Linked DNA regions of Homo sapiens: regions 1 and 2 are each linked to region 3. Evidence: promoter capture Hi-C in human tissues and cell types (Jung and others, 2019). All regions are on one chromosome and are shown on one strand. The core of a region is centred on a gene start or on the middle of the fragment in contact, and the rest is flanking DNA. Distances in the headings are between cores, read along the strand shown. Region 1 overlaps OIT3 (oncoprotein induced transcript 3). Region 2 has its middle 50 kb from the start of PLA2G12B. Region 3 holds the start of PLA2G12B (phospholipase A2 group XIIB).

What was found. Contacts are between HindIII fragments. The study calls those that stand out against the background at their distance.
Region 1: a fragment that was not itself captured here is called in contact with the fragment with the promoter of PLA2G12B in region 3 in 1 of the 25 tissues and cell types used here (pancreas).
Region 2: a contact is called between a fragment that was not itself captured here and the fragment with the promoter of PLA2G12B in region 3, in 1 of the 25 tissues and cell types used here (adrenal gland).

Annotation. Positions count from the first base shown.
Region 1 is chr10:72,914,764-72,917,595 of GRCh38, reverse strand. All of the region lies in intron 6 of OIT3 (oncoprotein induced transcript 3), which reads right to left. It also overlaps the pseudogene NPM1P24. Among named protein-coding and RNA genes, the nearest start is that of OIT3, 22 kb to the right of the region's middle. The HindIII fragment of the contact is 3,063 bases long and covers 1-2,832 here.
Region 2 is chr10:73,003,083-73,005,996 of GRCh38, reverse strand. It overlaps the pseudogene RPL17P50. Among named protein-coding and RNA genes, the nearest start is that of PLA2G12B, 50 kb to the right of the region's middle. The HindIII fragment of the contact is 5,315 bases long and covers 1-2,914 here.
Region 3 is chr10:72,953,116-72,956,076 of GRCh38, reverse strand. It overlaps PLA2G12B (phospholipase A2 group XIIB), which reads left to right and starts at 1,271. Exons shown (of 4, transcript NM_032562.5): 1 at 1,271-1,602. The coding sequence starts at 1,392. The HindIII fragment of the contact is 10,065 bases long and covers 1-2,961 here.

The sequences.
Region 1 (2,832 bases), core at 131-2,630, 39 kb after region 3:
TTTCATTTCTGTAACAGTTGATATCTGGCTGTCCCTTTTATAATGCAGAGTGAGAACTTTCCCTACCATGTTTGATAAATGTTGTCCAGGTTCCATTGCCAAGAATGTGTTGTCCAAAATGCCTGTTTAGTTTTTAAAGATGGAACTCCACCCTTTGCTTTGGTTTAAGTATGTATGGAATGTTATGATAGGACATCGTAGTAGCGGTGGTTGGGCATGGAAACGATGGGGAGACAAAAATATACACATGAAATAAAACTCAGTATTTTAATAAAGTAAAAAAAAAACCTTAAATGTAAAACCCAAAACTATAAAAATCCTGGAAGACAACCTAGGCAGTACCATTGGAGACAGAGGCACAAGCAAAGATTTCATGATGAAGATGCCAAAAGCAATTGCAATAAAAGCAAACATTGGCAAATGGGATCTAATTAAACTAAAGAGCTTCTACACAGCAAAAGAAGCTATCATCAGAGTGAACAGACAACCTACAGAATGGGAGAAAAATTTTTTTCTCTGATGAAGGTCTAATATCCAGCATCTACAAGAAACTTAAAGAAATTTATAAGAAAAAAACATTAAAACGTGGGAAAAGGACATGAGCAGACACGTCTCAAAAGAAGACATACATGTGGCCAACAAGCATATGAAAAAAAAGCTCAACATCACTGATTATTACAGAAATGCAAATCAAAACCACAATGAGATATCATCTCACACCAGTCAGAATGGCTACTATTAAAAAGTCAGAAAATAACATGCTGGTGAGGTTGTGGAGAAAAAGGAATGTTTTTACACTGTTGGTGGGAGTGTAAATTAGTTCAACCATTGTGGAACACCGTGTGGTGCTTCCTCAAAGACCTGAAGACAGAACTACCCTTTGACCTAGCAATGCCATTACTGGGTATATACCCAAAGGATTATAAATCATCCTATTATAAAGACACATGTAATGCACGTGTATGTTTACTGCAGCACTATTCACAAGAGCAAAGACATGGAATCAACCTAAATGCCATCAATGATAGGCTGGGTAAAGAAAATGTGGTACATATACACCATGGAATACTTGCAGCCACAAAAAAAGAATGAGATCATGTCCTTTGCAGGGAGTGGATGGAGCTGGAGGCCATTATCCTTAGCCAACTAACACAGGAACAGAAAACCAAATACCACATGTTCTCACTTATAAGTGGGAGCTAAATGATGAGAACACACTGACACATAGTGTGGAACAGCACACACTGGGGCCTATCAGAGAGTGGAAGGTAGGAGGGGGGAGAGAAGCAGGAAATATAGCTAACGGGTAGTAGGCTTAATACCTGGGTGATGAAATAATCTGTATAACCAACCCCCATGACACACATTTACATATGTAACAAACCTGCACATGCTGCACATGTACCCCTGAACTTAAAATAAAAATAAAAATAAAACTAAGCTTCAAAGACAGTATGGTATACGAGAGTAAGAAATGATCTATGGTCAGGAAGGGATGAGTGCGATGAGAGTAGAACTCATTAGGGGCTGACATCTTTCCTCACCCATCATTCCCATCTTCATTTACCCGCCCTTCAATGCCTCACTCAAACTCATCTCTTCTATGAAGCCCCTCAGGTTTACCATGTACAGTTGATGCCCATTATTCATGGATTTGGTATGTGTGAATTCACCTAGCAGCTAATATTTATGTATAACCCCAAAATCAGTACTCACTATGCTTCTGAGGTTATTCACAGAATGTGCACAGTGGCACATTCCCAGCTGAGGTCCAACAAGGCACCACTGCCTTCTTGTTTTAGCTCTCATTGTAAACCAGGATCCTTTTTGTGATCTACAGAATGGCATGTTTTTTGCATGTTTGTGCTTTCGTGGGAGATTTTGCTGTTTAAAGGGACCCCCAAATGCAGTGCAGATGGGCTATCTAGTGATCCTAAGCACAAGGAGGCTATGAGATCCTTACAGGGAAAATGGGAAAATATGTGTTTGATAAACTCCAGACATGAGTTGCGGTGCTGCTGGCCATGAGTGCAATGTTAATGAATCTATAATGTATGTTAAATAAGGTATCTTTAAACAGAAACACACACAGAACAAGACTGTTAACTGATCAGTTAACAAAAATGTTGCAACCAGAGGATTACAGGAACCTAACCCAGTGTTTCCCCTAGGAGCAATACTTAATTGCTAAAGAAATTAGCTTCAGTATTCCCTAATTTATTGCTTGTGGCAGCTTTGTAGAACATAACTACTGTGAATAACAAGAATCAACTGTAGCTTAAACTCAGATGGCTCTCATTTAGAACTTCTTTCTACCTCCTAATTAGCCCATTATTATACATGGCTTTATATTCTAACTATTGGTATTATACCGCCTAGCTCTTTGTTGTGTACTTTTTAATAAATAAGAAAATAATACCAAAAAAAAAGGGCTGGGCACAGTGGCTTACACCTATAATCCCAGCACTTTGGGGGTCTGAGGCCGGTGGATCACCTGAGGTCAGGAGTTCAAGACCAGCCTGACCAACATGGTGAAACCCCGTCTCTACTAAAGATACAAAAATTAGCCAGGCATGGTGGCAGATGCCTGTAATCCCAGCTACTTGGGAGGCTGAGGCAGGAGAATCGCTTGAACCTGGGAGGCAGAGGTTGCAGTGAGTCAAGATTGTACCATTGCCAGCCTGGGCAACAAAAGCAAAACTCCATCTCAAAATTTAAAAAAAAAAAAGAGTTTTACACACTACTTCTTGGGCAGACCCACATATTCCTTTGGAGTGTTACTCATAATACCTGATCTATGCAGAATCAGCGAATTCAAAGCTCTGGTATTTT
Region 2 (2,914 bases), core at 98-2,597, 50 kb before region 3:
CTTACAGAGCTCATGGATTAACCCATACATGAGCTCTTCCTGCCACATTGAGATGATCTTTACTGAAAAGGAACAGATTGTTCCTAAACCAGAAGAGGAGGTTGCCCAGAAGAAAAAGATATCCCAGAAGAAACTGAAGAAACAAAAACTTATGGCACGGGAATAAATTCAGCATTAAAATAAATGTAATTAAAAGGAAAAAAAAAGAAATATGGTGTGGTAATAGCTGTGAGCTTAATGAAGTAAGTTAATTGATGCTTTAGACTATTTACATTACTTATGGTGAATCCTAGTTCACACAAGAGTTCTTTATACTTTATGCAGTATTTAAATACTGAAGGAAGAATTTGGTTTGATTCTCTGGGAAAGTAGGTATTTTTACCCACTTTTAAGTGAACTCTGAAGCTCCTTTCTTCTGACTAGCCTTTGTTCCAATATAAGTGTTTTAGAAATATGGAGAATTAAGTTCAGCACTTTGATCCACTCAGATTTTGTGACCATTGATGATTTTTAAAAAAATTTTTTAGTAAAGTGGATGGAAGCAGAAAATTCAAAAATGTAGACATAATATAGGGGTTCAAAGAATGGAAAATACTGTTTATTGCCATGTGTGTTATAGAAAGTAGAATACAAGTGTCTTTCAGAAGGAAATTACGTATTCCATAATCTTACAAATTTCATTATATTCAACTTGGAACCCCACGTGGGAATTATTAAACTCTTTCAGAATTAGATCATACAGAACCCTTTAAAGTTTTATAATTACCAATGATTTTTCTTTCCAAATGAAAAGAGGGAAAAATCCAATATGAAGCTTTTAGTTCCATTACTGCAATTCTGTTATTTCTTTTAATGCTGAACTTTCACATAAAGGAGGGCTGGAACTACCCTGGAAAATGTGGAAACTGTTGTTTCCTCACCAACCCTAAGCCTTTCCTTCCATATTGGAAGTTTCATCATTCATTAACTAACTTTTATTCTTATTAACTTTAAATAGGGAGTTATCACCAACATGGAGTTAACGGAAGTATCCACCAGAACATCTTAACAGTGGGGTAAGCAAATGTGATAACTAGATGGTAATAACCTAGTAATATTATAAAAAGAGCAGTGAACTGACTTTACGATTCTTTGGAAAGCTGAATGGTAAATGCAGTAATAAAAGAAGCAATCATCTACCTCAGTGAAATTATAATAAAATGGTTATTGGGCAGGCATGGTGGCTCATGCCTGTAATCCCAGCACTTTGGGAGGCCGAGGCAGGTGGATCATCTGAGATCAGGAGTTTGAGACCAGCCTGGCCAACATGTTGAAACCCCGTCTTTACTAAAAATACAAAAAATTAGCCAGGCATGGTGGCAGGTGCCCATAATCCCAGCTACTCAGGAGGCTGAGGTGAGAGAATCACTTGAACCTGGGAGGCAGAGGTTGCCGTGAGCTGAGATCGCACCAGTGCACTCCAGCCTGGGCAACAGAGCAAGACTCCGTCTCAAAAAAAAATAAAATGGTTATTACAGTGTGAGAGTGTGGAGAAGTTACAAATAGTAAATCAACACATATATATAATTTATAAACTAATATATGTGTGTGTGTATATAAATGAAATCTTATTGCTGCTTAAAAGAATCTAAGTATCTTTACGTAGCCATGTGTTGACTGCTATATGTAACTTCCATACCACTTAAGTCCATATAACTGAAAAATGAACAGCTTCTATGCAGAGCCCAATGGACTAAACTATTGAATGACTGGATTGCTGTTAAGAAATTTATAGGCTGGGCACAGTGGTGTATGCCTGTAATCCCAGCACACTGGGAGGCCAAGGTGGGAGGATCTCTTGAACCCAGGAATTTGAGACCTGCCTGAGCAACATAGCAAGACCCTATCTCTGCTAAAAATAAAAAAGTTACCCAGGTGTAGTGGCATATGCCTGTGGTCCCAGCTACTTGAGCAGGCTGAGGTGGGAGGATCCCTTGAGCCTGGGGGTCAAGGCTGCAGTGAGCTGTGCTTGTGCCACTGTACTCAAGCCTGGGCAACAGAGCAAGACCCTGTCTCAAAAAAAAAAAAAAAAAAAAACTGTGATTCTAAAACACATACACCAAATTATGATTAATTATAAATCACTTGAACAGACAGAATTATGAAATGAAGATTGCTGGGAGAAAGCAGAATGGGAAAAATGACATCTTAATCCAGATGGCCAGCAACACAAGGACCAATCTCTTGGCGGTGGTTATTTTTACTATAGTAAAAGTTAGTGTTTTAGAGGGAACAATATTGGGTAACTTAGACAAAAAGGAATGAGTTAATAGAGTACCATAAATTACCAGATTTATCAGAATAAAATTTCAAAATCCTGTGCTCCTAATGTCCTTGGATATTATTCAACCACTTTAATGATATTTTGCAAAATTAACTGTAGTAGACCAGTAAAGGTCTTTGGCTGCCTACTTTCTGAAATTTGAGGACTATGAAGTTTACTTTCTGTGTAAATGTAGCCTTAAGTTAAATATAAATTTCTACTCAGGAAAACTGATGAGAATGCCTTACTGTAAATAACATATACAAGCAGATGTTAAGTAAAAGGAGCAACCAAAAGGAGTGGAAGTCCTCCATCGTCTGCTTTTGAGGTCTTGTTGAACTTTCATTGTAGCACTGTTCTGTTGAAATTAGTTATGTGTTGCTTAATGAGAGGAAAATGCATCATCATTAGAAGATTGTTGTTGTGGGAACATCACAGAGTGTACTTACACAAACTTAGATGGTATAGTCTGCTACATACCTAGGCTATATGATACAGCCTATTGCTCCCAGGCTACAAACCTATACAGCATGTTATTGTACTGAATACTGTAACCAGTTATAACACAAAGCTAACAATGTATGTATCTAAACATAGAAAAAGGTACAGTAT
Region 3 (2,961 bases), core at 22-2,521:
ACATTTACTGAAAATGAAGAAATTAATTCATTTAATTCATTATTTTCCATGGGGCTTTCCAGACAAACATTTGAGAAAGGAGCTAAATGATTCATGTGGTCCATAAAGGTATCATTTTTATAGACTGGTGATTATTTTATTATTACTATTTTTTTGAGACAGAGTTTCGCTCTTGTCGCCCATGCTGGAGTGCAATGGCGTGCTCTCGGCTCACTGCAACCTCCGCCTCCTGGGTTCAAGTGATTCTCCTGCCTTAGCCTTCCTAGTAGCTGGGATTACAGGCGGCTGCTACCTTGCCTGGCTAATTTTTGTATTTTTAGTGGAGACGGGGTTTCGCTATGTTGGTCAGGCTGGCCTCAAACTCCTGACCTCAGGTGATCCAAACGCCTCGGCCTCCCAAAATGCTGGGATTACAGGCATGCACCACCATGCCCGGTCCTAGACTAGTGATTTTATAGATGGCATTTCTTCACACGACTAAAAGCAGTCTAAACTGAAAACGATGCCAAAACACTAGACTTCAGTCAACAGTCTTAAAAGCCTACACTCCCAAATAGACTATTTGATAAACCCTCTGACTTCTAAGAAACTCAAAGGAAAAACACCACCAGGAGAGCCGAGTGCCCCCAGAATTGTCCTTGGACCATCTGTAGATCTTGTCTTATGATCCACTTATGCTGAGTGTAAACAGAGATACTGCTGTAAATAGAAGCCAAAATGTCCCTGCACTCAGATGGCTACATCTGGGAGCTCTGCCAAATTAGAGGATTTATGCGTCAGAGCCAGGTGGGTTCCACAGCAGAAGCTGGGGTCTCAAATCTGAACTTCTGCTTAACACACACTTGGTACCTACTCTGACACTATCGTGACCCTTGGTAAAGTGACTATTAATTCCTACCGCTGGGGCTTTCCTGGGCCCTGTACACATCCTCCTGACTCTCCTTGGAGACTATGTAGGTAGCTGGCTGAGGGGTGTGGCTAGGACCTTCGGTCAAGCTCTTCTATCAAGAGGCTGGCCCTGAAGAGCCACACTTGTAACTGATCAACAGCTTAACAAGCTGGTCGGGGTAGAACTCCGAATCCTTCACCGTTCCTGCGTCTCAGAAGCTGGCTAACATCTCCCTCCCTCCAGGGTGGTAGAATCCACTTTGAAATGTTCTCTCTCCCTGGCCCTCCCACTCCCTAACCTTTGCCCTCTTTCTAATTGCCCTGATCTCATCCCAACCTCCATAGCTATGTTTAAAGTCCACCTCTGGGGAACAGACAGATTGAATGTTCCAGATAATCCCTTTCCCAGTCCTGCCTGACATCTGGGTAGGGGGTTTGTCCCTGGAATTCTGGGACACTGGCTGGGGTTTGAGGAGAGAAGCCAGTACCTACCTGGCTGCAGGATGAAGCTGGCCAGTGGCTTCTTGGTTTTGTGGCTCAGCCTTGGGGGTGGCCTGGCTCAGAGCGACACGAGCCCTGACACGGAGGAGTCCTATTCAGACTGGGGCCTTCGGCACCTCCGGGGAAGCTTTGAATCCGTCAATAGCTACTTCGATTCTTTTCTGGAGCTGCTGGGAGGGAAGAATGGAGTCTGTCAGTACAGGTGCCGATATGGTGAGTGTGCGGTTTCTCTTTCTGTAAAAACTGTTGCTGGTGGACCCATGGACAGCCCCAGAGAGGTCACGATCTGTCTTGCACTTTTTCCTGTTATCCACTTAGAGCTGCCAGATTTAGCAGATAAAAATGTAGGACACCCAGTGAAATGTGAAATCCAAATAAACAACAAATAAGTCATTAGTATAAGTATGTCCAGTGAAATATCTGGGACATACTTATCCTGACAAATTCTTCGTTGTTTATCTCAAACTCACATTTCACTGAGCTTCCTGTATTGTATCTGGGAAACCTTCCCTGGGCCATTTTAATGAGTTTGTTGTGAGGCAGTTCTTAGGAAAAAAGGGTACCTGGGGTGGGAAGAAGGAGGGTGGGTATGAGAGGCCTCTGTGAGGAGTTCCCAGGGATGAAAACTGAAGCCGAACATTCAGAGAAAAATCTGCCATGGGGCAAAACCACCTCCTCAGCTGCTCTGTGCTCAGCTTGGAAACAAATTCTCCCTTCCCCCTGCTGCAGTTCACACCGTCCTCCCAGCTCTCAGTCCCTGACTGGCATCAATTTGCTGGACTTTCTCAAGGGAGCTGTCCCTGCCTGCAGCCTCGGCAACGACAGGCATGCTGTGGAGAGGAAGGGTTCGTGGCTCACCAGGGATCCCGGGGCTGTCCCCTGGACTTGGCGCCAGATGCAGATTTGTGAGCTGGCAGGAGCACTTCCCCTACCTTGCCTGAATATGGCTGGGGGTACACAGATATAAGGTGCACACCTGGCTGCCGGCACAGAGCCCCTGGTCCCAGGGGCCCTGGAAGTTAATGTAAGGGGAGCAAAATGTGGAGCCCCAGGCCTTGAAGCTGGGTGGCATCGTGTAATTGCCAATGCGCATGAAAACGTTTTCCAAAGCATGCACAGTCTCAGGTCTCAGGTAGCATTAGTTTTATGGTTTAATTTATCAACTATCTCATCAAGGGATTAGAAATGAAAATGGTGAGTCAATTTAGCCTAACAGGAAAACACATTTGAGAAATATTTTCTCCAAATACTCAACAGAGAAAAAGTCAGCTTTGAAGAGATGCACAAAAAAACTACATACTTCCCGGACTCACCCTTAAGTCTCTCTATTCCTTTTTGAGTGGGGAAAATCGCTTCCTTATACACTAAGAGTGACTAGGAGGTAATGGTTAATCATTGCATCAGGACCCAAAGTTTTGCAGCATAGATGTTTTAACAATCTATGGTTAAAATCTATGTTTTAACCATCTATGTTTTAACCATCTATGCTGCAGCTTCTTTGTGAAAGTTTCACAGAGAAAAATGCCTGGTCTGTTAGGACCCACCTGGCCCTAAAACCATGTATTTGTCCAA